7 separate regions of the Homo sapiens genome follow, and all the other regions are linked to region 5. Evidence: promoter capture Hi-C in 16 types of primary human blood cells and fetal thymus (Javierre and others, 2016). All regions are on one chromosome and are shown on one strand. Each heading gives the region's core, a stretch centred on a gene start or on the middle of the fragment in contact. The rest is flanking DNA. Distances are from core to core; before and after follow the strand shown. Region 1 overlaps RBM19 (RNA binding motif protein 19). Region 2 holds the start of RASAL1 (RAS protein activator like 1). Region 3 overlaps RBM19 (RNA binding motif protein 19). Region 4 has its middle 46 kb from the start of LINC01234. Region 5 holds the start of LHX5 (LIM homeobox 5). Region 6 overlaps RBM19 (RNA binding motif protein 19). Region 7 overlaps RBM19 (RNA binding motif protein 19).

Region 1 (3,269 bases), core at 218-2,717, 460 kb before region 5:
TAATGATGATTGGTGTAAACCTTGTGAAAGCCCGACTCCTGCTCGTTTATGAGTTAAGCTCTCTCCACTCAGTTTGGATCAGGGTCTCCTTCAAAACCTGTGCCTGTTCCCATCAAAACAAAATTCTCTTCATGTCATCCTGGCTTGTTCTTAACTGTCTCCCCCAAATCACAGCTGCCTTGATTTTTACTTCAGTTACCACCCTTGAACCTAAGTAATGTTTTTTTTTTTTGGCCCAAAGCGAGTTCTCCTTTGAAACGCAGAGATCAGCCAGGGCTGAGCGGCACTGAAAACAAATTGGTGGAGGCCTCTTCCCGCAGCCTTGGGTGGCAACAGGAGGCAGGCTGGGGACACGTGGTGGCTCCCAAAGTGACCGCTTCCACCAGGCTCTTCATTTCCTTGTGTCCTGGGGATTATCCCTCTCTGCTGTCTTCTTTTTTCTCTAACACTTGTCACAATTTCTATTTATTCTGTTTATTTGTTACTTGTATTTGTTTCCTATCTCAGCCAGACTTTGAGCCGTGAAGGCAGGGAATGGGGCTGTCTCCTTCACTGCCCGGTACCCAGCACCCCGGGGGGCCCAGGCATAGGGAAGCTCGGTTCACAGGTGTCAAGGGAGTGAGGGAATGCATGAGAATCTGCCTCTCTGTTCCTTCGAAAGATGAGGCCGGGTCATATTTGTCTTTGTGTCCCAAGGCTCTGGCACACAGTAGAAGCTTAGTTAGGTTTGAACGTTTGGTTTTCGTTGTTAGCCCAGCCTCAGAACACAGTGGTGACAATAACACCATCAATCAAAATAATAGAGGGGGCTCCCATTTGTCCCCACTCTCACAAATGGCCCTTTATTTTATTTCAAATGCTTATCACTTCCTGGAATTGTGTCATGAATGGTTCCTTTCCCCGGTGTTGCTCTGTCGGACTCTGCCCCTGGAATGGCCACTCCACATGCCGAGACCCCATTCACCTTGCTCACGGCAGTATCCTAGCACCCATGAACGTGCCCCAGTGGCTGATAGTGATCAGGAAGTGTGTGTGAGTGAACCCAAGAGCAAAAGCAGCAGTTATGCCATGCTAGGCATGGTTCTAAGTCCTTGGCATCCTCATCATGTGAGGCCTAGAGCCCCTGGGGAAATGGCCCTGAGATTTCCAGTAAGCAGCCATTCTGTGACTGGCCAAGCCACCTGCCTCTCTGAGGCTCAGTTTCCATATCTGTAAAACGGGCATGATATCCGCCCCGCCCTCTGAGGGCGTGGTGGGATGTCACATGCACATCACCAGTCTTCCGCTGCTGTTGGTGACTGAGCAATATAAATCACAGTGCATCTTGGGAGGCTGAGGCAGGAGGATCACTCGAGTCCAGAAGTTCAAGACAAGCCTGGACAGCATGGCAAAACCCTATTTCTACAAAAAATACAAAAATTAGCTGGGCGTAGTGGTGCATGCCTTGTAGTCCCAGCTACTCAGGAGGCTGAGGTTGGAGGATCACTTGAGCCTGGAAGATGGAGGCTGCAGTGAGCCGAGATTGCACCACTACACTCAGCCTGGGTGACAGAGCAAGACCCTATCTCAAAAATTAAATTAAAATTTAGAAAAATATGGCACAGTGGATAGTCTTTAACTCACCATGGGCACCAGCCCCAAGCCAGCAGCCGAGCTGGGTGATCAAGATGGACACCACACAGATGCACAGACCCCCTTCCCCAGGAACTTTTGAGCTGTGGAGGACAATAGAGCTGTTGGGGGACAAGTGAGATGTCACAAGTAGTAATAGAAGTGGGCCCTGAGTACAGAAATGTCTGCATCACAGCACAGGGTGCATCACGGAGATAGCATGCTGTGGTTTACGGTCAGAGTGTTTTCCCACCCCCTGCCCGCGGGTCCCCCTGCTTCCTGGGTCTACATTGTAGGTTTGAGCATGTGTCCAACAGCCCCTACCTCCCAGAGGGGCTGCTTTCCAGGGCCTGACCATGACTCACACAAAGAAGGCCTTAGAGCCCGGCCGCTGGGCCTCCTTTGGCCCGGGAAGTTGTGCGTGTCTGTGCTAATTCCAAGCCCCGCTGTGTCCCGCGTCATCGGTGAATTCCCACAGAGCTGATCTCCAGGGCCTCCTCCTGCCCTCACTGCACGCAGCACATGCACAGCCCCTCCTGGCGGGTGCTGTTCTTTTCACCTGCTCCTCCCCCACCCCCACCCTCTTTGCATTGTTCCTGAAGCTTCACCAAATCCCCGACTCCCCCGTTGTACGAGGACAACGAGGGCTGGGGGGACTCAGCCAGCCCACAAAGCCCTGGATTTTCTCAGGCTCCCAAGGAAGAAGAGTAGGAGGGGAGTGGACATACCTTTTTTTTTTTATTTTACCCCCTTCCTTTCTGCAAAGCTCTCCTGTTCTCTGTACCAGTCTCGAGGGAGGGGGACAGCGTGTTTTATCTCCCCACAACCAAGACCCTCACCTCCAGATAAAGGGCTCAGAGTGGGGGGAGGTCCTGAAAAGCTGCTTGCAACTGATAACAGTCTTTGCTGTCAGCTCCAGCGCCGAGAGCCGGGAAAGGGGAGGAGGCCGCAGTAAATTCTGTGGCCTGATTATAATAAAGCCCCATGTGGCGATGCGTGACTGGATTTGATTGTGCTAACTACAGATGGAAGCACAGTTCCCCTGCCTCTCCCAACCCCCTCCAGCCCACCTTGCTTTTAGATCCTTCCCCCAACTCCCCCGCCCCCAGGCCTAGCCCTGATTCCTTTCTCACTTCTTCCCTCTTTTTCTGGTTCCTGGTGTTTTTGTTGGCAAACATCTGTTTGAGTTTCACAATACCTTATTTTTTTCTTTCCCATCTTTCTTTTGTCTCCCAACTTGGGGCCAGCAGCAGAAGTGCTTTTTAAAATGACCTTTGGCTTCATGGCCTTGGCTCCTGGCTGTCTCCACGCCTCTCTGGACACAGCCTGGCCTGGTGACTCGGGGAGCAGTAGCTGGCTGGCAAGGGTGCCCAGCTGTGGACTCGGACGCCTGGCACTGGCTGGCCTTCCTGGGAGCCTGAAGCCAGCAGCTTACCCTGCAGGGAGAAGGAGAGGGAGGGCCGAGGGCTCCCCACACTGGGTTGTCTTATCTCTCCCAGGGTTAGGGATTTCCAACATTTTCCCCTGGATTTCTCTCTCAGCAAGGCCTGCTGGGCAGTGTGGGTAGCAAGGGTAATATTAAGAACGAAACTGTTCTCTCCCAGTGCTCGCTGCAGGCCCAGGCTCAGGTCTTGCAGCCTGCTCTGCATTCATTCTCA
Region 2 (3,456 bases), core at 189-2,688, 340 kb after region 5:
AGGAATTCCAGGGCTCTGAGTTCCTCATCAGCCTGTCTGGGTTGCTGGGTGGGGAGTCAAGAAGGGAGACTGGGAAGCAGACCATTGGGCTGCTGACGGATCCAGGAAGGGCACTCCTGGTCTCACCGGTCTGGGCGTTGGCTCCCGCACTCAGTCTGCAGGGGCACTCCCATTGGTGCCTGGCCTTTCTAAGAGGTCTTGGGCAGGTCAACAATGAATTCACAGGGAGAAATAAGTGTGCGAACGGATCTGTTCTGGGACAGGCCCTGCCTGTCATATTATCTCATTTAAAATCAGAAAAATGTACAAACCTGGAGCCACTGGAGCAGAGAGAAAGGAAAGAAAATCTCTACCGGAGTGGAAGGGCATCCTGGAAGCCTTCCCAGGAGAGGTGACGCGTGGCCCACGCCTCAAAGGACAACAATCAGAATATCAAACACTTTCTGGACGTGTATTAGGTACTTGTCACTGTCCTGAGACTTTTATCTTCATTAACTCTTTTAATTCTTTCAAAATCCTGTGACTGAAATGCAATGTCATCCTCACTCAACAGATGAGAAAACCAAACCAAAGCACAGAGAGGTTGAATGGCTTACCCAAGTCCAGACAGCTACCAAATGGCAGAGCCAGGATTCGAACCCCTGGAAGGCAAATCAGTTACTGACTGTGAGACCTCTGCCAAGTTATTTAATCCCTCTGAACCTCAGTTTCTTTATCCATAAACTGCGGATAATGGGGTAACAGTGGAGTAGTGTGTAGTGCACATCTGGAGACAAAAATGAGCTAATCCCAGTAAAGCGCTTAGAACAGTGCCTGGCACCCATGAAGTGTTCAAACAACTGTAGATGACTTTTTATCATCGCTGTAGTGGTTATCTTCAAGCCTTCCCCTCCCCCATCTGGCCGCGGCTTCCTCCCCCGCAGTGCCAGCCCGTGACGTTAGAGCAGAGTCTGGGTTCTGTGTTTAACTGGAAACTAGAACGAGATGGAAGGGGATGTTCAAGGCCCCTCCCTTGACTCTGAACGGACCCCCAGGGAACATGCGACCCTCTCTCTGGCGACGCCTCCCACCCACCACTAATACTTGCTCCTGGACCGGGGGGCGCGGAGGTTGGAGAGAGGAGGCAGGTGTCTGCATGGTAGGCAAGGAGGGGTGGGGGCGGAGAGGTGTGAATATGTTGGATGAGGGACAGGCGGGGGCACAGACCATGTCTTTTAAGCCCAATGCCAACTCACCAGGAGCCAGCGGCCACGCCCATCAGGACGGGGGCCCCTCCCCACCTGGCGGTGCACCCTTGTCTCCGCCGCCCGTGCGCTCTGGCGCGCATGACTGGGGTGCCGGTAGAGGGCGCGCGAGGGGGCCCGGGGTCAGGTGGGGGACCCCATTGGAGGCGGGATTGTGGGGAGGTCCCTGGGCCGCCCCTCCCGCCCCCTGCCCGCCCAGCCTGCTTGTCTGGAGCTCCAGACGCCTCGGCAAGAGCCCGCTGCGCCCCCTGCGCGCTCCTCCTGCTCGGAGCACGGCTCCTACCTGTAGAGTCCGGACGGGCGCTCCCTCCCCGGGCACCTACACCTTCTCCTCTTTCGGAAATCTCCCATCCAGCTACCCGGGTCTCGGACAGGCGGCACTGGGACCACGAGGCAGGGAGCCAGGCTTGAAGCAGGTGACATGTAGACGTCCCCTGGTCCAGCCTCGGAACCTGAGCGCCCTTCTGCCTGGAAAGTTTGTGGCTAGGCGCCATGGCCAAGAGCAGCTCCCTGAATGTTCGCGTGGTGGAGGGCCGCGCGCTGCCTGCCAAGGACGTGTGAGTACTCCTCGGGCGCTTCTGGGTGAGGGGCGCGCAAGGCCTGGGGTGGGGCCGACGTCGCCCTTTCCGCGTGCCAGGGCGGGTTGGCAGGAGGGCGAGGGGTTCTTGTCCAAGACTGGTCTTGGGGCAGTTCCGCTTTAAAGGGGCGAGAGGCCGCATGCCCATGGCTGTCCCGGTGGGAGGGGGGCGCCTAGAGTTAGCAGATGCCCCGCCTCACCCCCGGGCAGGGGAGGGGGTGTCTTTGTTCCCGGGATGTACTAAAGGGGGTCGTCCAGAGCTGAAGAGGGGATTAGAGGGCCATATTCTGTCAGATCTGGGAGGGGAGAAAGCGGGGGGTCTCTTCCTTAGTCCAGGCAGATGTTGGAGGTGGCTCCTCCAGGCGTGGGTGGGGGCCTAGCAAGGGAACCCTGGGGAGGACCCTTGGAGAGGGCCTGGGATCAGATGAGCCCTAACATCCTGTGTGGATCTGGTGCTTAGGTTTGCAGAGTGTCACCAGGTGGCCCTCCAGGGTCCTTTTGACCCCAAGCCCTGAGCTCCCCAGTCTTGTGGCTCCCAGCCTCGTGTGGGCCTTCCCCGGGTGCTGAGCTGCTTGAAGAGCCAATTCCTTGCTGCGACCCCCTCCCCAGCCAGGTGCAATGGGACTGGGGGACCCTACGGCTCCCTTCACTACTAGTCCCAAGCTATGCTTCCCCCAGGGCTGAGTCAGCAGCTGCTGAATCAGCAGAATATGGGGGGCGGGTTCCCCCTCCTGCTTGGCATAGTGCCCAGAAGGGGCTCTGAGGGCCTTAGCACCTGCGACAGGTGTGGGATCCTCTGGAGGACATTTGTTGTGTGACCTTGAACCTGCTTCTCTCTGGGCCTTGGTTTCCCATTTGGGCAATGAGAGCTCTGGACCGGAGTCCCCATCTGGTTGCCTGGGGTCTCCCATCCAGCTGGGAGGGTGGAGGACCTGTTAGGAGTTCCCCTGTGGCCCAGGTGAGCAGGAGCATGGATTGGGAGCCTTCACCTGTGTCAAGATTCAGTCTTAGCTCTGTGCTGATTCCCCAAGGTGTGGGCTCCCAGAGAGGACTTTCCTGCCTGATTTTATGACATTCCCAACCCCCAAAACACTGCAGCTGCGTCAAGGGGGCAGCTGTTGAGAGCAATTTTTGCCACCCTTCATCCTCATTGGCTACTCCAAATATACACACCCTGAATGAGAAGCAGAGTGTGTGCTCTGACAGTTCAGTGGCTGGACAAGCCCCCCCACCAGACTCTTTCTAAGATGTCCCCTCAGAGGCCCTGGGAATGAGACGGCCTACACTGTTAGGGCATTGAGGCCAGGCTGGATGCCTGGCAGCTGCTAGGTGGTGAAAGGAGTTCTTTCCAGAAACGGGGTTCTCACTCACTGAGCTCTGGCCCCTCCACCAGCCCTGGGTGAGAGGTCATGAGGGGGCGATGGGTGTCACCCCTGCACCTGGACACTGGCTTACGGTAACCTGCTGCTCTTCTGGAGAAGGGACTTGAGTCATGCCTGGTTCCTGCAGCTCTTGGCCAAACTTCCTGCCCCCAATTCCTGGGCCAGTGAGCTATGAAATAGGTCATGCCCTAGAGCAAGGGTGGGGAGGAGTCACTTAGCCCCAGCTGGCAGGGGGGGTTCTGGCCACCCTGCC
Region 3 (3,107 bases), core at 567-3,066, 480 kb before region 5:
AGTTTCACCATATTGTCCAGGCTGATCTTGAGCTCCTGGCCTCAAGTGATCAACCCACCTCAGCCTCCCAAATTGCTGGGATTACAGGCCTGAGCCACTGCACCTGGCCCCAGCCCTGTATTTTCAAATGAGATGAAAGCAAGCTTCATCCTCTTTTCTTTCCTCTTTTCCCTTTCTTCTTCCTCCCTCCTTTTATTTTCTGCCTCTTCTAATTATGCACTCTGTCCTTTTCTTCCCCCCCAAAATTGTATATTTCAGTGAGGTAGTAGAGTGTGGGGAAGTCAGAATTATGAGTTCAAATCCTAGTTCCATCATTTAGTGGCTGTTGGTCCTTGGGTGAGATACTTTACTTCCTTCAGCCTCTGAATTTTCGTTTACAAAAAGGCACTCATGGTAGCACTGCTCCCTGCCTCCGGTTTCTGACCCCGTGCCTAAGTATATGCTGGAATTCTGGAATCTTCAGGTTTCAGGAAGAGAACCCTCTGGAATGCAGCACCCCCAGCAGGGCTCACTCCCCTCTGCCTACCTTGTTACTAAATACAGGATAAAAGGCAGCACCCCACGGTCAAGCGCAGTCACATTTCTGCAACGCATGGACAAGACTGCTTGCGCTGCGTGAATCAGCATAAGCTATATATGGGCTCACATCCACTCAGGGCAGGCTTTGCTGGGAAGTGCATTCAAGTCGGGGCAGGTTTTGTTGCCATAAAGGTTACCAGAAACTTAGGTTTTTTCAGAGGTGTCTGGATTCCGGAGTTGTGGGAAAAAGGATCCTGAACCCATAATCCCCATGGGATTGTTGTGAAGATGTAGTAGATCACTGGCATCTGTAAAGTGCTTGGCTTAGTGTCTGGCACTGATAAGCCCTACATAGTGGTACTGACACCCCGTTCTTCAGGGCTCCTTCACATTCCCACCCTGCCCCTCCTTGTAGCCCCAGGGTCCCTGTCCAGGTGCCCATAGCTTGCCAGGCTCTGGTTCCAGCCCTCGTCTCAGGGGCACATGGAGACTTGGCATCACCTAGCCCCACCTCTGGCCAGACTCCATACACGGTGGACATTGATTCTTCCCAGCATTCCCCAGCTCCCCCTGGCGGCAGGCACCTTCTCTGGCACTGAAATGTCCCAGTGTGCCACCTCCTGCAGCTGTACGAAGGGTTAGTGTGGCCACTTCTGTTTGTTTTTGTGATCACTCAGACAGAGAAACCAGCAAACCAGAAGGAACCCACCACCTGCCACACCGTGAAGCTGCGGGGAGCCCCGTTCAATGTCACAGAGGTATGTGCTAACTGAGGACAAGGGTCGGCAGCCTGCGGGAGCAGGAGACGAGGGTGGGGAGGCCAGGAGCCTTTGGTGCATGGGGGCATTAGAGTCGGTTGAGGACATGAGCTGGAAGGAATTGGGGGCCAAAAAGGCTGAGAAATAACATCTCCGGCATCGTCAGGGTCAGGAAACAGGCATGGCTACACCAAGACAAAGGAGGTTCTGGTTTCACTCACCAGTACCCACACCAGGGTGGGCACACACTCTGTTAAAGAAAAGGTTGTGGGGGCAGTCAGCCAGTTAATATTTAAGACTTCGTGATCAACACGGTCTCTGTTGTGACTACTCACCCTGCTCTTATAGCAAGGAAGCAGTCTCAGAAAGTAGGTAAAAATAAATAAAACTTTAGTTACAAAAACAGGCAGTGAGCCAGATTTGGCCTGTGGACTGTAGTTTGCTGCCTTTGGGTCTGTAACAGCAGAAGAACACTTAATTTTCGTTCTTCGTGAAAGTAGTAGTTCAATATAGAAAACTCAAAACCATGTAGCTAAATAAAAAATATTTAAAAATTGCCTGTAAGTAGGATGACTACTAAATTATCATCTACACTAAATTGAGAGTGAGAGGGGTGCTACCCCAATGGGGTGCCAGGCTGTGGATGTAATTACCGCAGGTCTAACGACTCCAAATACAGTGACAACTCATCCCAGGCAAACTAGGGCTGCCCTGGCCAACACACTTGTATCTACCCAGTGACGTCCACTGATACATTTTGGGTGTGTCTTCTTAGATGGTTTTTGTTTTGTTTTCCTTTGTTTTTAGTTTTTATTATTATTATTTTTGTGTGTGTGTGTGAGACAGGGTCTCACTGTGTTGCCCAGGCTGTAGTACAGTGCTGCCATCATAGCTCACTGAAGCCTCTTCTTGGACGTTTTTGTCTTTGTATGTCTAAGAAGCAATCATTTACTGGGAACTCTTTGGAAACCCCTTTTTCCTCCTCATCATGGTATGTTATAGACCTCTTTGAATATTGAATATACTCTGCTACAGCAGCATTTTTTATGCTCATGCTCTTCCTTACTCAGGGTAAACTTCTGTAGGTTTACTCAGTCCCCTAAATTGGGACGTGGGAGTTATATCCAATTTTTTGCTGTTATAAATAATAATTCAGTTCCTTGGGATTAGGGGTGAGCAGACTTCGTCTGTAAAGGCCAGATGGTAAATATGTCAGGCTTTGTAAGCCATTTAATCTCTGTCACATATTCGTTGTTTTCTCTTTTTTTGGTAATCCTTTAAAATGTAAAAACCATTTTTAGCTTGCAAGCCATTCAAAAGCAGACCATGGTGATATTTGGCCCGTGGGCCATAGTTTGCTGATCTTTGCTCCAGATAAATATTCTGTGTAGGCAAATGTGTGTACAATTCTAAGGCTTTGGCACATAATATCAGTTGCCCTCTGGGAGCATTGCTAGTTTATGCTCGCTGTAGCAGAGTCTACAAGTGCCCATTTTCCTGAACCCTGGGTATTATTAATGTTTCATCAATGTGATAGGTAAAATTGGCATCTCATGTTAATTTATATTTTAAATTACTTGTAAGATGGATCATACTCTCTCACATTTGTAGATCGTGTATATCTTGTTGTCATTGTTGTTTTGAGACAGAGTTTCGCTCTTATCTCCCAGGCTGGAGTACAATGGTGCAATCTCAGCTCACTGCAACCTCCGCCTCCCGGGTTCAAGTGATTCTCCTGCCTCAGCCTCTCGGGTAGCTGGGATTACAGGCACCTGTCACCATGTCCAGCTAATTTTTGTATTTTTAGTAGAGACAGCGTTTCACCATGTT
Region 4 (3,097 bases), core at 384-2,883, 350 kb before region 5:
AGTGATGCAAGTAGCATCTCCGTCACAAAAGCGTTATCAGGCCCAGGCAGCTGCAGGCCCCTGCCAGGGCTCACACAGTGAAATGATGGGAATCAGGGCTGTCCAACCCTTCCTGCGTCACTGCCTTCCCTGTGGCCAAAAGAAAGCTGGTGAGCTGGGGAAGGTTCAGGAACTGCAGGAGAGTGAAAGGTAGCAAGAGGAGGGAGAGCTTCCAGCCACTCGCCAGGCCTGGCCTGGAATTGGCAGTGGGGAGTGAGGCAGCCTAGAGGCCATATACTGAGCCTGGCCCCTGCACCCCTGCCCCAGGCACGCACTGTTTGGAAGGGGCAGATCTGTGAGCACACAGGAGTAGTGGAGTCCACTCCCACAGAGATCTCAGGGTGCCCCTTCATGCCGCGCCCACCAGACTGCACCCTCATCTCCTCTCTTCCGGCTCAGCTGTCCTCGTGCAGCCAGTGTGGCCTGACTGATCCGTGAGCTGGATCATGTCAGTCTGCAGCTTCAAACCCTCTAGGGCCTCCCTGACGCATGGAAAGTCGAGTCCCGCTGCTCACCCCAGCACCGAGGCCCCACCTCACCTGACCCTGCACTCGCTGTCCCGGCCTTCCTCCCTGCAGGCTCCCACCCCAGGGCCCTCGAGCTGCCTCTTCCCTCTGCCTGGGATGCCCTTCCCTCACATTCTTCCTGCGTGGCGCCTTTTTATTTTCCTTTGAGATCTTAAATCACGCTTGTCCAACCCAAGCTTGGGCTTTGAATGCAGCCCAACACAAATTTGTAAACTTCCTTAAATTTGCAATTTTTTTTTTTTTTTTTAGTTCATCAGTTATCACTAGTGTTATTGTATTTTATGTGTGGTCCAAGACAGTTCTTCCAGGGTGACCCAGGGAAGCCAAAAGTTTGGATGCCCCGGTTTAACTTCTGCTTCCTCACTGAGGGAGACAGACTCCTGATCAGTTCGTCTGCAGTAACCACACCCAGCTCCTCTTTACACCCAGCCCCAACCCCCTATCCCCCATCCCCTGTCCCTCTCAGTCACAGCACTCAGTACAGGGGACAACCTGGAGTGTGAGCAAGATCTCAGTGACCCAGAGCCTTTTACCCTGTCAAAAATAACTGTTTTAAACGGGAACTAGGAAAGCAATTAAGATTTTTGTTACAATCATCATCATTGTTCTAGAATGCAGTAAAGTACAGCCAGGTAGCCATAAAGCGGAGCTCGGGAAAAGTCATTTGCCTGGCCCAGAGGAGGGGCTTCATCTCTTCTTCCTTTGGAGAAGAGGGACTGGTGAAAGCGTCTTACGAGAAATTCCTCCATCCAGCATGTGGGGGTTGAACTGGGAGACTCTAAGCCTTTGAGCCAAGGCAGCAAGGGACTGAGTCACCGCTGTCACTGGGAGGGGGACACGGGAGCTTTCTGAAAGGCGGCTTCGGTTGTTTTTGAAGCAATGATGGGACGTTGGTAGACACAGACACCCAGAAGATCTGGGAGAGAAACTCCAGAAATAACCCACAGAGGTGGCACTGAGGAGGGAGCACTCCTCCAGGGCGGTGAGCCTCCTGACCCGGCTCAGGACTGACTGCTGCAGGGGGCAGGAAACTGCCTCAGCCACATCTCAGGGGGCTGTGACCCTTCCCTGCCGATATGGTCACCAGAGAGCCGGGAAAGAGAACCATAACAGGCTGGACCAGAGCACTTGCGTAGGAAAGGAGAGGTGACACCAAGAGGCCAGAGGGGCCAAAGGGACACAGGGAGGTGGGAGGTCAGTAGGACACGTGCCTCAGAAAAGCCAGAGGCACACATCTGGATGAGGCCTGTGACCCGGTGTTCAGAGTGTGGCTCAGTTAGCTGGGAGGAACGGGGACAGGCTGTTTCCAGAGTGGAGGGCTGGCTGGAACCGCATCTGCTGTCCTCACGTCCGTCTCCCACCCGCTGTGGGTCTCAGGGGCCTGGCCCCTTGAGCTGTGTCTCTGAAACTCCCTTATCAAGAGGCTTGTGTTCAGTTTGGCCAGCAGTGGGCACTAGCGGGCGCCTGGAAGGCTGGTAGAAGAGAAACTCCAGGCATCCCGCCCTCTCCCTCTGTCCCACGTGGCGTCTCCACCAAGGGTCCACCCCTGGATGGGTGAGGAGGGCCCTGGCATCTCTACTATAGGATACACACAGTCAGACTGCAGGAGGGAGATGGGTGGTCAGACAGGTCCTGGAGAACAGACAGGGGTGAGGGACAGTGGGGCCTGGAGGAGGGACAGGAGTGAGAGACAGTGGGGACGGGAGGAGGAGAGCGGAATGCACAGGCCCTGACTCCAAAGGCCTGCGTTAGAATCTCTAGGCTCTCAGTGTCTCCAGGCCTTGCGTTCCATGTCTTTCAAATGGGTGCAGGAATTCCTGCCTCATTGGATTGGTTAAGACAGAAACAGAAGGTCATGAATGGAAAGTAGTTAGCAGACTGTGTCATGCCTAGTGAGTACTTAGTAATGGTAGTTGCCATCATTATTGTGAACATAACTTCAAAACAAGGCAAGCTTGTGGGGCTGCACCCAGCAGATGTCAGGCCAGCTGGGCCCACGTCCAGAGGCTGGGGCGGGATAGGGACTCACAGGGCGCTGCGCCATGTTGGGGAGGAGCCTATGATCCAGGAAGGAGCCTGTAGGAGGTGCCCCCCTGCCCACTGGCCCCAGTAGGCAAACCAGCACCTGGCTCTTCCTGCACAGAACCAAAGTTCAAGCCCAAATGGGCCAATGGTTGTGGGGAAACAGGTGAGCACCCCCACAGGAGCAGCTGCCTGTCTATTGCTGTGTCTGTGTGTCTGTTCCTAACCCTTTCTTTTTTTTTTTTTTTTTTTTTTTTGAGACAAAGTCTCGCTCTGTTCCCCAGGCTGGAGTGCAGTGGCGTGATCTGGGCTCACCTCCCTGGTTCAAGCGATTGTCCCGCCTCAGCCTCCCAAGGCTGGGATTACAGGTATGCACCACCACGCCCGGCTAATTTTGTATTTTTCATAGAGACTGGGTTTCACCATGTAGACCAGGCTGGTCTCGAATTCCTGACCTCAAGTGATCCACCTACCTCGGCCTCCCAAAGTGTGGGGATTACGGGTGTGAG
Region 5 (3,178 bases), core at 622-3,121:
ACACAAATACAAACATAACCCCCTCACACACACATACACACACACACACAAAAGCCTACAGGAGTTGCATAAACAAAAAACTACTGTTTGCACAAATACACACATTTGCAGGCACACACACACAGCGACTGGCACACAAACATAGCTCTTCAGAATTCTGCACTCACAAACACAACCAAGCCAGCTCAGTCTCATACACACAGGGTCTCAAGCATGCACGCCCTCACCTACACACAAACACACACATTCAGATTTTTCAAAGTACACCTTCACATCAATGCTTGCAAACACAGACACAAACACTCTTACGTGAATGCACACGTACACATGAAAACACCCTCACATTTATGCATCCTCAAATAAGCAAACACACATAGGCACAGACCAACAAAAATAAAAGTGCACACAGTGATAAACACAAACATTAGCAGGACCATACACAATTACAAACACACGAATCTGCACACACGAAAACGCACACGCAGAAATTTACTCACAGGATTGATGGTACTAACACAATAAACAGATGCAAAAATGGAATTCTCAAACAGCGAGTATACACTAACAAGCTCAGGAAACACACCCAAACAAACATTCACAGCCAAGTGCTGGCACAAACCCCTCCAGCTCCAGCCCTTGGTCCCAGGCCCTACTCCCTCAGCCCCCTTTCCAGAAGCGAAAGGCAAATCCTGGTTGCCCATTCCCGGCTTCCCCAACTAGGATCCCTGGTGGCCACGCTGGCCCCAGGGGAAAGGAGGCCTGGTCCCTTCTCCTACTCAGACCCACACACCCCCTCCTCACGCACACCTGCCAACATCCCCCCTCCCCCTTAACACACACACACTCTCTCTCCTCACACTCTGGGCGCCCTGCCGAGCACGGAACATACGTGCGCCGCTTCTCCTGCGCCCAATGAGGGGACGAACTTGCACACCCAGCCCGCACGGCGTGAATACAAACAGCGCTCTCATAGTCGCTGGTGTCCCCCGCCTCAGCCGTACGACCCACTCACCACAGTGCCCCATAGGCTGACCTGGAATCTGGAAGGTGCAGCGAGGAAAGGAGAGACGTGGTGAGTGCCACCTCCGAGCTGTCTGCGGGAAGACCCGTCCACCCTGAATCTCCCCCTGTCCACATCTCCCTCAGAGCCCCGTGAGCAGCGCACTCAGGCCTGAAACTCTGGAGTTCGGGACCAGGCCAAATGGCACCCCTCCTGCTCCCCCGCCTCCCCACCCTGGGCCTGGGCCTGGGCTCGGCGGCCGGGCGGGGAAAACTACCCAGGCCGCGCGGTCTCCACTAGCTCTCTCCATGAGAAAGGCCCGGCTGGGCCCCAGCCCCGTGTATGACAAAAAGAAGCCGGGGCCGGCTCCAGGAGCCGGGAGAACCGCGCTGACGCAGCTTCAGGGCGCAGAGGGGGCGCGGGGGTGGGGGAATCCAATCTGGGCTGGCTGGGCTGGAGAAGGGGAGCGAAGTGTGGGGCGTGGGGCAACTTCTGCAAGTTCCAGGGATGGCGAAGGGGGCAGGGGTACCTCCCGGACTAGGCCTTGGAACCCGTGACCCCCAAATATTTGTGAGGAGAAAGAGAGAGGAAGAGAGACGCAATTTTCGTTTCGCGCTGCCCCCGCCCCGTCAGCCCCAAACTGGAAGGTAAATACTTACTTAGCCTCCGAACCAGGTACAAGCTAATACTCAACAATACTGATGCCTTGTTTTTTTTGCTCTGTCCGGACAGCAACGCTGTAGCCAATTTAGATATGCTATAAATTTAAGAGGTTGCCATGGCCACGGTGCGCCCATTGGCCGCTGGGCCCCCTACGTGCAGCGCCACGTCACCAAATCTGAATAAGGATGCGCGAATTACGCGGCGACCAGACAAAGATGAGGATCCGGACCGCTTGAAAGTGGGGGAAAGTGCCGGCGCCTCCGCCACCGGGGAAAGCCGCTCCGCAGCGCCGAGGCCAGCAGCCACCCGAGATACCTGGGGAAGCCCGGAACAGGCGCCGGGGCGTGCGGCCCGTGGCATGAGGTTGTGAACGCCACCCGCCCCCCACCACCCCACTCCGGGCAGCCCAGCGCCAGGCCAGAGATTGCCCAAGGACTGGACCGGCTGAGTCTTGGTCCGGACCAGACTCGCCCTGCAGCTGCTGAGACAAGAGGCGAAGGGCAGCGGAGGGCCCGGCAGGCCCGAGGGCCAGGGGCCCAAAGGGAGGGCAAGGCGGCCGAAGCCGCCGGGGCGCGGGGCTATGATGGTGCACTGCGCCGGTTGCGAGCGGCCCATCCTCGACCGCTTTCTGCTGAACGTGCTGGACCGCGCGTGGCACATCAAATGTGTTCAGTGCTGCGAGTGCAAAACCAACCTCTCGGAGAAGTGCTTCTCGCGCGAGGGCAAGCTCTACTGCAAAAATGACTTTTTCAGGTAAGAGGCCGCGCCGCTCTGCTGCCTGCGCGCCCACCCTGCGCGCGCTCCACTGGGGCGCTGGGGAAGGGGATACCCCCATCCCCATCCCAGCCTCCCCGGATCACAAGCTTAGATGGGGAGCGGGCAGCACTTTGCTCTCCTCCTGTCCTTGGTCCAGGAAAGGTCCCGAGCCCAGGCGGAGGAAGAAGGACGCTGCTTCGCTGCCTCACGTTGGCTCGAGGCCGGCTCAGAGCGCTGGCGGGGCAGAGGGAGGAAGCCCTGACAAACTTGCTATCCACTCCTCTCCGCCCCTTCCAAGCAGCTGCAACCCCAAGACAGAAGCTTCAAGCCCCGTCCCGAGAGAGAGGAAGGATTTTTGCATGAGTTAGAGACGCCTGAAGGCTTCTCGCTCCAGGCAGAATGTGTGAGCCCATCGGCCGCAATCCCAAACAGAAACTTCTCAGCTCCAGAGGGGGCCCAGCGAGGAAGGTCTCCCCTGGTGATGGGAGGAGAGAACCTCCCCCACCCACCTCCCAACCCCTTAAACATTTCCTCCCATGTTGAAAAGTAGAAACGAAATCGAGGCTGAGAATCAGGACCTCTGGGGTCTAGACTGGGCTGTGGCACCTCCCCAGCCCCCCTACCCCTGTGGGCCCTGTGGCTGGCCAGGGCAGATCACCTCTCTGGGCCTCAGTTTCCCCAGCCTGGAAGCCACTGGAGTTTGGGGCAGCTGAGCCCTACCTGTTTCCTCTGGGCACCCAGAGCCGGCTTTGTGAACAG
Region 6 (3,235 bases), core at 599-3,098, 420 kb before region 5:
GCTGGAGGCTTTGTGCACAGTCAAGCCTCAGCTGGTAGCGTAGTGATTCAGATGGTCAGTACTGTAATCTGCAGGAGTGGTGGCCTCTAGGATTGTGCAGTATTCAACCTGCACGACCAAACATGGCCGCCCTGAGAGTCTATCAGATTGGTGTTTCTGTTTGCTTTTAAGAGACAGAGTGTTGCTATATTGCCCAGGCCAGTCTTGAACTCCTGGCCTCAAGTGATCCTCCCACCTCAGCCTCCCGAGTAGCCGGGATTGTAGGTGCGAGCCACCACACCTGGCTAGATTGGTGTTTGAATCTTACCTCCTTCAGCTGTCACACTTGGACAAGTCATTTAAACACTCTGGGCCGGGTGCCATGACTCACACCTGTAATCCCAGTGCTTTGGGAGGCCAAAGTAGATGGATTACTTGAGGTTAGGAGCTTGAGACCAGCCTGGCCAACGGGGTAAAACCCCATCTCTACTAAAAATACAAAACTTAGCTGGGTATGGTGGTGGGCGCCTGTAATCCCAGCTTGGGAGGCTGAGGCAGGAGAATCGCTTGAACCCAGGAAGCAAAGGTTGCAGTGAGCTGAGATCACACCAGTGCACTCCAGCCTGGGCGACAGAGCGAGACTCTATCTCAAAAAATAAAAAAATAAACACTGACTGTCAGTATCTGCATCTATAAAATGGAGATCATAATAAATACTTGCCGGGTCTATTGGGAGGGCTCAGTAAAGTAACAAGTAAAGCCATTGGCCCAAAGCCATGGTTCCCAAACTGTGTACCAAGGCACCTCAGGGTGCCACAGTGAACTGACACCTTTCCTGTGGGCTATTTCAGATTTCTGAGGAAAAACAGCCACATCTGTCAGAGATGGTGTAAACTGCTACTGTCAAGTTGTTTAGCCCTAACTACTTAATAAACAAACTGTTAGGTATTTCTTTCGGCCTAGGAGTGCCATGAAAAGATCCTGCAGCCTAGTGTTTGGTGCAAAATCAGCACTCAATAAATAGGAGAGGTTCTTTTGTTGTAATAGAGCCAGAAAGGCTGTGCTGGCCTCAAGATTCCATTTTGTTTCGACTCTTCGTACATTTCACCATCGTCTTGGAGGCGCTGGGATTGGTATCCAGGGTTATTCACCATTCCTCCCGCCTTCCCTCTCCTCACCTCTGTTCTCTTGTAAAATGCATTTCAGAACATGGATTTCTCAGCCCAGATTTCGGGAAAAAACCCAGCCTGCCTGCAGCCATCTCAATGGGGTGTCACAAGAGCATCCAAAACATAAAAGTCTCAGAAGAAAATTAATTTTCTTCACTGTAATGTCTGTGCCTCCCAGTGTTCCTGGCAAGAGCTGGTCCTCCAGGTTGGAGCCAGGGTGTGGCTCCCCTCCCATGGGGGGCGGAGCCTGTGGGGACAGCCTGGGCCTGAACCTTTAAGGCGGACATGCCCCCGAGCCCAGAAATTCCCTGGAGCTCTAAGCACCTCACGTGATGGGGCCGCTGCATTCCGGAGAATTTGCCTGGTTTTCCCTGCTCTGGGGCAAGCGAACAAAGCACATTACAGGGAAGATAGGTGGACCCAGGGCCCAGGATGTTTCTCTTTGGTTTGCTTTGTTTTGTTTTCACTTCCATCCTCATTCTAGCTACCTCCAGCGACCTCATGGATTGGGGTGCCCTTTAGCTGACAGTTGACAGGTTAAATTACAGAAAAATGCTAATATGTGGTCATCTTTGACATTCAAAAACAGCCTAATTATAATCGTTCATCCTTTATTGTACCCCTACCATGCACCCAGCACACATGAGCTCTCTCTCCCTTTCTCCTCTCTACATATATATCTATAGATATGTGTATAGAGAGATACATAGATATGTACATGTATATTTGAGAGAGAACGAAATGTATATATTGGATTTTTATATATACACATATATAAAATATATCCTATATGTAATCCTATATATAGCTATAGTATATATTCTATATATAATCCAATAGATATATAGTATATATCCTATATATAAGATTTTTTCTTTTTTAAAAAATGTAGTTGCACAATTAAAACATGAATATGTTTTCCTTGCTGAAAGTAAAATTTAAGGCCAAGATATCCTTTCATCCACTGCCACCCAAGTCTTGTGCCACCCTCCTCCCTGGAGAAATTCATGCCACTCATTTGCGAATCTCCTTCTAGATCTTTGTCTTTGCATTTTGTACATATGTGAACCTGTAGGCGACGGATGTGATAGTGTTGTGTCCATTTAGAGAAAATGATGTCGTGTTTTCTGTATTGTTAGGCGTCTTCCCCTCTCTGACATGTGTCTGGCAATCTTGCCTATTTCACCCATGTAACTCTCCTCATCTTTCATAATGCCGTACGTATCCTTCACTCTCAGGAGGCCAGGCAGCCCATTTCACAGATAAGGAAAGTGGGTTTGGAGCCGGGCATGTTGTATGGTTGAGAGGTGGTCCTGACTGTTTCCCTCCCAGCAGCTCACCTTCCCTGCCCCATCATCCCTCGTGGACTGACACACACTCTCTCCCGCCCAACCAAGATGAGGCATTGGTCTTCCTGGCAGGCCACCTTGCAGGTTAATGGAGAGTTACCATCAATACCATAGATGGCCACTTTCCAGGGAATTCAAATATAATAAAATATACTTAACATGGGAACTCGATGGAGTGTAATTGAAATCTTTGATGATCCAGAAGGTGATTCAGGACCTGCTGGGCCCTGTTTCATCCTTGCAAATATCAACTATCACTGTGCATGCTGCACAGAAGCCTTGATGAGTGAAGTTCCCTGGCTGCTGGCCTAAGTGGTTCTCATTGTGTGCCACGTCCCCTGCGATGGGCCTTGTCCTCTGGCCAGAAGAGCAGGCTTGGGGAAGTGCTTTGCTCAGGTGAAGGACAGCCCCTGTCCAATATCAAAATGGTCAGGCATGTGGCTGTCCCAGTCGTGGCCTTAGTGTCGTCGCACAAGGGTGTGTCCCACTTGACTGTCTGCAAAGCACTTCAGCCAGTGCTTGGACTCTGCTCTCAGATAGCACAGGCTTTGAGTCCTAGCCCAGACCTTCATTTGGAGAAGTAGATTTGTAGCTTATTATTCCCTTTTCAGGAAAATGCAGCTCTGTAAGCAGGTAGATTCCTCATCTACTTCCAGAATAATTAAGACCTTAATTCATCCCTGCAGAATTTGAGAAAAATGTCAGTTGAAAGAAAATTACATTGCAACCCCCAGTCTG
Region 7 (3,150 bases), core at 16-2,515, 400 kb before region 5:
CGCACAGACCCGATTAGACCTCTTGGGCTCTCAGCTTCTGACTCACCATCCAATTCTAAACTTTTGTAATTGAATCGAGTTCTTTGTTGGTTTATTTGGCCTCAAACAAATGGTCCAACTCGCAGATTCATTTCAACCCTTCCCTGCATCTTAAAACTCACCAGTCATCCTGAGCTCGGCTTGTTTTATTGTTGTTTTCTTTCCCAGACTTTTAAAAATAATATTTGTCCCAGCAGGGTGATTCGTTCTCCTCCCCATGAGCACTGGCAGGCTCTGCGGCATGAATCACTCGCTCCCGTGCTCCCTGTCCCCTGACATGTCCCTGGGAGGCCTCCAACGCTTTCTGTCGAACGGTCCGCACCGTGGCTTCGCCGCTTGCATCTTCTGCAGAGGTGTCTTGGCTGTCATCTCCTGGTTGACAGTAGGCCTGGCTTTCTTGAGAAGCTCAGATGTTGAAGCTACTCAATTACCTGAAGTACACCCCAATCTGTACCCCACTGGTCTGGAAAAGTGGTCCCCTCATGGCTGTGACCTCTTGGTCTGGGACTTCCCAGGGAGACTCAGTGACCATGCCCGCTCCCTCTTTTCAGCCGTTGTGTAGGGCCATTTGGATGCTTTGGCCTTTTGCCAAGAGGATGGGGAGCATCTGAACTGGGCTTTCCAACATCATGGGGGTTCTGGAGTGTTCCTCCTCATGGCAGGTGTCAGAAACCTCTAGAATGCTAGCTCTTCAGAAGCCGCCTTCCCTATCCATCATCATCTCCTCAGCCTCTTTTTCCACTTCTGCCATCATTTCCCAGTGGCTGGCGGGCTCCAGCTAGAACATAAGGACTGAGTTCAAGGGCTGAAGCTGGTTACTGTCCCCAGGGTGGGGCACAGTGTGCCAAAGCAAAATCCACAGTCAGACAGACCCACACGCAAGTCCTGTGACCTCAGATAAGACCTCCCCTCGAGGTCTCACATGCGTCCTGGGAGGCCTGCCGCCCAGTGGGTCTGCTCTGGGCCTAAAGGGAGGCAGCGCGTGTAGAGCATTTGGCATGGCCAGGGCAGGTGCTCAGCAAGTGCCGCTTCCTCCCACTCCCCGTTTCTTATTTCAGGTATTGAGAGCCCGATCATGAGAGGGGCCAGAAATCAGAAAATCCAGGAAAAGACAAGCATCCATTAATAACTCCATTCATCAGCACTCCACAGACACTTTTTAGTGGGCACCTACTGTGTGCCAGGTGCTGTTGGAACTGTTCTGGGTGCCGGCCATTCAGTAGTTAGCAAGGAAGACCAACCATAAACAAATAGAGGGGAAAAAATGTGCAATAGAATGCAAAGTCCCATAACATCGAGGTGACAAATGAAGCAGGGTGACAGCAAATGCTAGTCGTGTGCAGACAAGCAGCCTGGGTCGGAGCACCTTTGAGGTGGCACCCTCCACCTTGCTGCTGTTCTCTGTTTCCATTTAGCAGGGCGGTGACTGGGTTTCTAGGTTCATCTGTTTGTCTCTGTGCTAAGCAGGTCTCCAGGGTGATGGCGAGATATCTGGCTCTTGGCCCTCTGGGGCACAGCACTCCCCACTTGGTCCAGACACGTGTAACTCAGCTCATCACCCGCACCATGCGTCTCATTTCTCCCATCACTGAACAATGAGGGGTTTCCCCAGTAAGTGACTTTGCCACCTTATACCTTTAAGTATCAGCCCTCTGAAAATGTTGACCATTCAGTGGAAATCTTCCTAAAATACACAGTGCCTTTTCTTTTTTTTTTTTTTTTTTAATTTATTTTTTTATTGATAATTCTTGGGTGTTTCTCACAGAGGGGGATTTGGCAGGGTCATGGGACAATAGTGGAGGGAAGGTCAGCAGATAAACAAGTGAACAAAGGTCTCTGGTTTTCCTAGGCAGAGGACCCTGCGGCCTTCCGCAGTGTTTGTGTCCCTGATTACTTGAGATTAGGGATTGGTGATGACTCTTAACGAGCATGCTGCCTTCAAGCATCTGTTTAACAAAGCACATCTTGCACCGCCCTTAATCCATTTAACCCTGAGTGGACACAGCACATGTTTCAGAGAGCACAGGGTTGGGGGTAAGGTCACAGATCAACAGGATCCCAAGGCAGAGGAATTTTTCTTAGTGCAGAACAAAATGAAAAGTCTCCCATGTCTACTTCTTTCTACACAGACACGGCAACCATCCGATTTCTCAATCTTTTCCCCACCTTTCCCGCCTTTCTATTCCACAAAGCCGCCATTGTCATCCTGGCCCGTTCTCAATGAGCTGTTGGGTACACCTCCCAGACGGGGTGGTGGCCGGGCAGAGGGGCTCCTCACTTCCCAGTAGGGGCGGCCGGGCAGAGGCGCCCCTCACCTCCCGGACGGGGCGGCTGGCCGGGCGGGGGGCTGACCCCCCAACCTCCCTCCCGGACGGGGCGGCTGGCCGGGCAGAGGGGCTCCTCACTTCCCAGTAGGGGCGGCCGGGCAGAGGCGCCCCTCACCTCCCGGACGGGGCGGCTGGCCGGGCGGGGGGGCTGACCCCCCCCACCTCCCTCCCGGACGGGGCGGCTGGCCGGGCGGGGGGCTGACCCCCCCACCTCCCTCCCGGACGGGGCGGCTGGCCGGGCAGAGGGGCTCCTCACTTCCCAGTAGGGGCGGCCGGGCAGAGGCGCCCCTCACCTCCCGGACGGGGCGGCTGGCCGGGCGGGGGGGCTGACCCCCCCCCACCTCCCTCCCGGACGGGGCGGCTGGCCGGGCGGGGGGCTGACCCCCCACCTCCCTCCCGGACGGGGCGGCTGGCCGGGCAGAGGGGCTCCTCACTTCCCAGTAGGGGCGGCCGGGCAGAGGCGCCCTTCACCTCCCGGACGGGGCGGCTGGCCGGGCAGGGGGGCTGACCCCCCCCCACCTCCCTCCCGGACGGGGCGGCTGGCCGGGCGGGGGGCCGACACCCCCACCTCCCTCCCGGATGGGGCGGCTGGCCGGGCAGAGGGGCTCCCCACCTCCCAGTAGGGGCGGCCGAGCAGAGGCGCCCCTCACCTCCCAGACGGGGCGGCTGGCCGGGCGGAGGGCTGACCCCCCCACCTCCCTCCCGGACGGGGTGGCTGCCGGGCAGAGAGGCTCCTCACTTCTCAGACGGGGCGGCTGCCGGGCGGAGGGGCTCCTCACTTCTC

What was found. The method cuts DNA at HindIII sites, captures the fragments that hold promoters and counts their contacts. A CHiCAGO score of 5 or more calls a contact.
Region 1: a fragment that was not itself captured here is called in contact with the fragment with the promoter of LHX5 in region 5 in 4 of 17 cell types (endothelial precursors, M1 macrophages, M0 macrophages and 1 more); the score reaches 6.4 in endothelial precursors.
Region 2: the fragment with the promoter of RASAL1 here is called in contact with the fragment with the promoter of LHX5 in region 5 in 9 of 17 cell types (erythroblasts, neutrophils, total B cells and 6 more); the score reaches 14.5 in erythroblasts.
Region 3: a contact is called between a fragment that was not itself captured here and the fragment with the promoter of LHX5 in region 5, in 1 of 17 cell types (megakaryocytes). The highest score is 6.2, in megakaryocytes.
Region 4: a fragment that was not itself captured here is called in contact with the fragment with the promoter of LHX5 in region 5 in 2 of 17 cell types (megakaryocytes and M2 macrophages); the score reaches 6.9 in megakaryocytes.
Region 6: a fragment that was not itself captured here is called in contact with the fragment with the promoter of LHX5 in region 5 in 2 of 17 cell types (M0 macrophages and endothelial precursors); the score reaches 6.4 in M0 macrophages.
Region 7: a contact is called between a fragment that was not itself captured here and the fragment with the promoter of LHX5 in region 5, in 1 of 17 cell types (M1 macrophages). The highest score is 5.1, in M1 macrophages.

The regions. Positions count from the first base shown.
Region 1 is chr12:113,932,270-113,935,538 of GRCh38, reverse strand. All of the region lies in intron 16 of RBM19 (RNA binding motif protein 19), which reads left to right. Among named protein-coding and RNA genes, the nearest start is that of RBM19, 32 kb to the left of the region's middle. RefSeq lists a cis regulatory region at 2,492-2,509, a silencer at 2,387-2,565 and enhancers at 2,428-2,572, 1,288-3,218, 2,822-3,269. The HindIII fragment of the contact is 1,497 bases long and covers 719-2,215 here.
Region 2 is chr12:113,133,743-113,137,198 of GRCh38, reverse strand. It overlaps RASAL1 (RAS protein activator like 1), which reads left to right and starts at 1,438. Exons shown (of 21, transcript NM_001301202.2): 1 at 1,438-1,801. The coding sequence starts at 1,737. RefSeq lists a silencer at 1,312-1,451. The HindIII fragment of the contact is 4,772 bases long and covers 1-3,456 here.
Region 3 is chr12:113,953,301-113,956,407 of GRCh38, reverse strand. RBM19 (RNA binding motif protein 19) reads left to right here. Exons shown (of 24, transcript NM_016196.4): 7 at 1,197-1,277. Among named protein-coding and RNA genes, the nearest start is that of RBM19, 11 kb to the left of the region's middle. The HindIII fragment of the contact is 3,342 bases long and covers 146-3,107 here.
Region 4 is chr12:113,817,962-113,821,058 of GRCh38, reverse strand. It overlaps a transcript of RBM19 not described here. Among named protein-coding and RNA genes, the nearest start is that of LINC01234, 46 kb to the right of the region's middle. RefSeq lists enhancers at 1,258-2,183, 2,184-3,097. The HindIII fragment of the contact is 1,778 bases long and covers 745-2,522 here.
Region 5 is chr12:113,470,564-113,473,741 of GRCh38, reverse strand. It overlaps LHX5 (LIM homeobox 5), which reads left to right and starts at 1,871. Exons shown (of 5, transcript NM_022363.3): 1 at 1,871-2,416. The coding sequence starts at 2,244. LHX5-AS1 (LHX5 antisense RNA 1) reads right to left here and starts at 1,739. Exons shown (of 2, transcript NR_126425.1): 1 at 1,660-1,739. RefSeq lists an enhancer at 1,989-2,789. The HindIII fragment of the contact is 6,712 bases long and covers 1-2,528 here.
Region 6 is chr12:113,894,581-113,897,815 of GRCh38, reverse strand. All of the region lies in intron 21 of RBM19 (RNA binding motif protein 19), which reads left to right. Among named protein-coding and RNA genes, the nearest start is that of RBM19, 70 kb to the left of the region's middle. The HindIII fragment of the contact is 3,949 bases long and covers 1-3,235 here.
Region 7 is chr12:113,872,303-113,875,452 of GRCh38, reverse strand. All of the region lies in intron 21 of RBM19 (RNA binding motif protein 19), which reads left to right. Among named protein-coding and RNA genes, the nearest start is that of RBM19, 92 kb to the left of the region's middle. The HindIII fragment of the contact is 5,903 bases long and covers 1-3,150 here.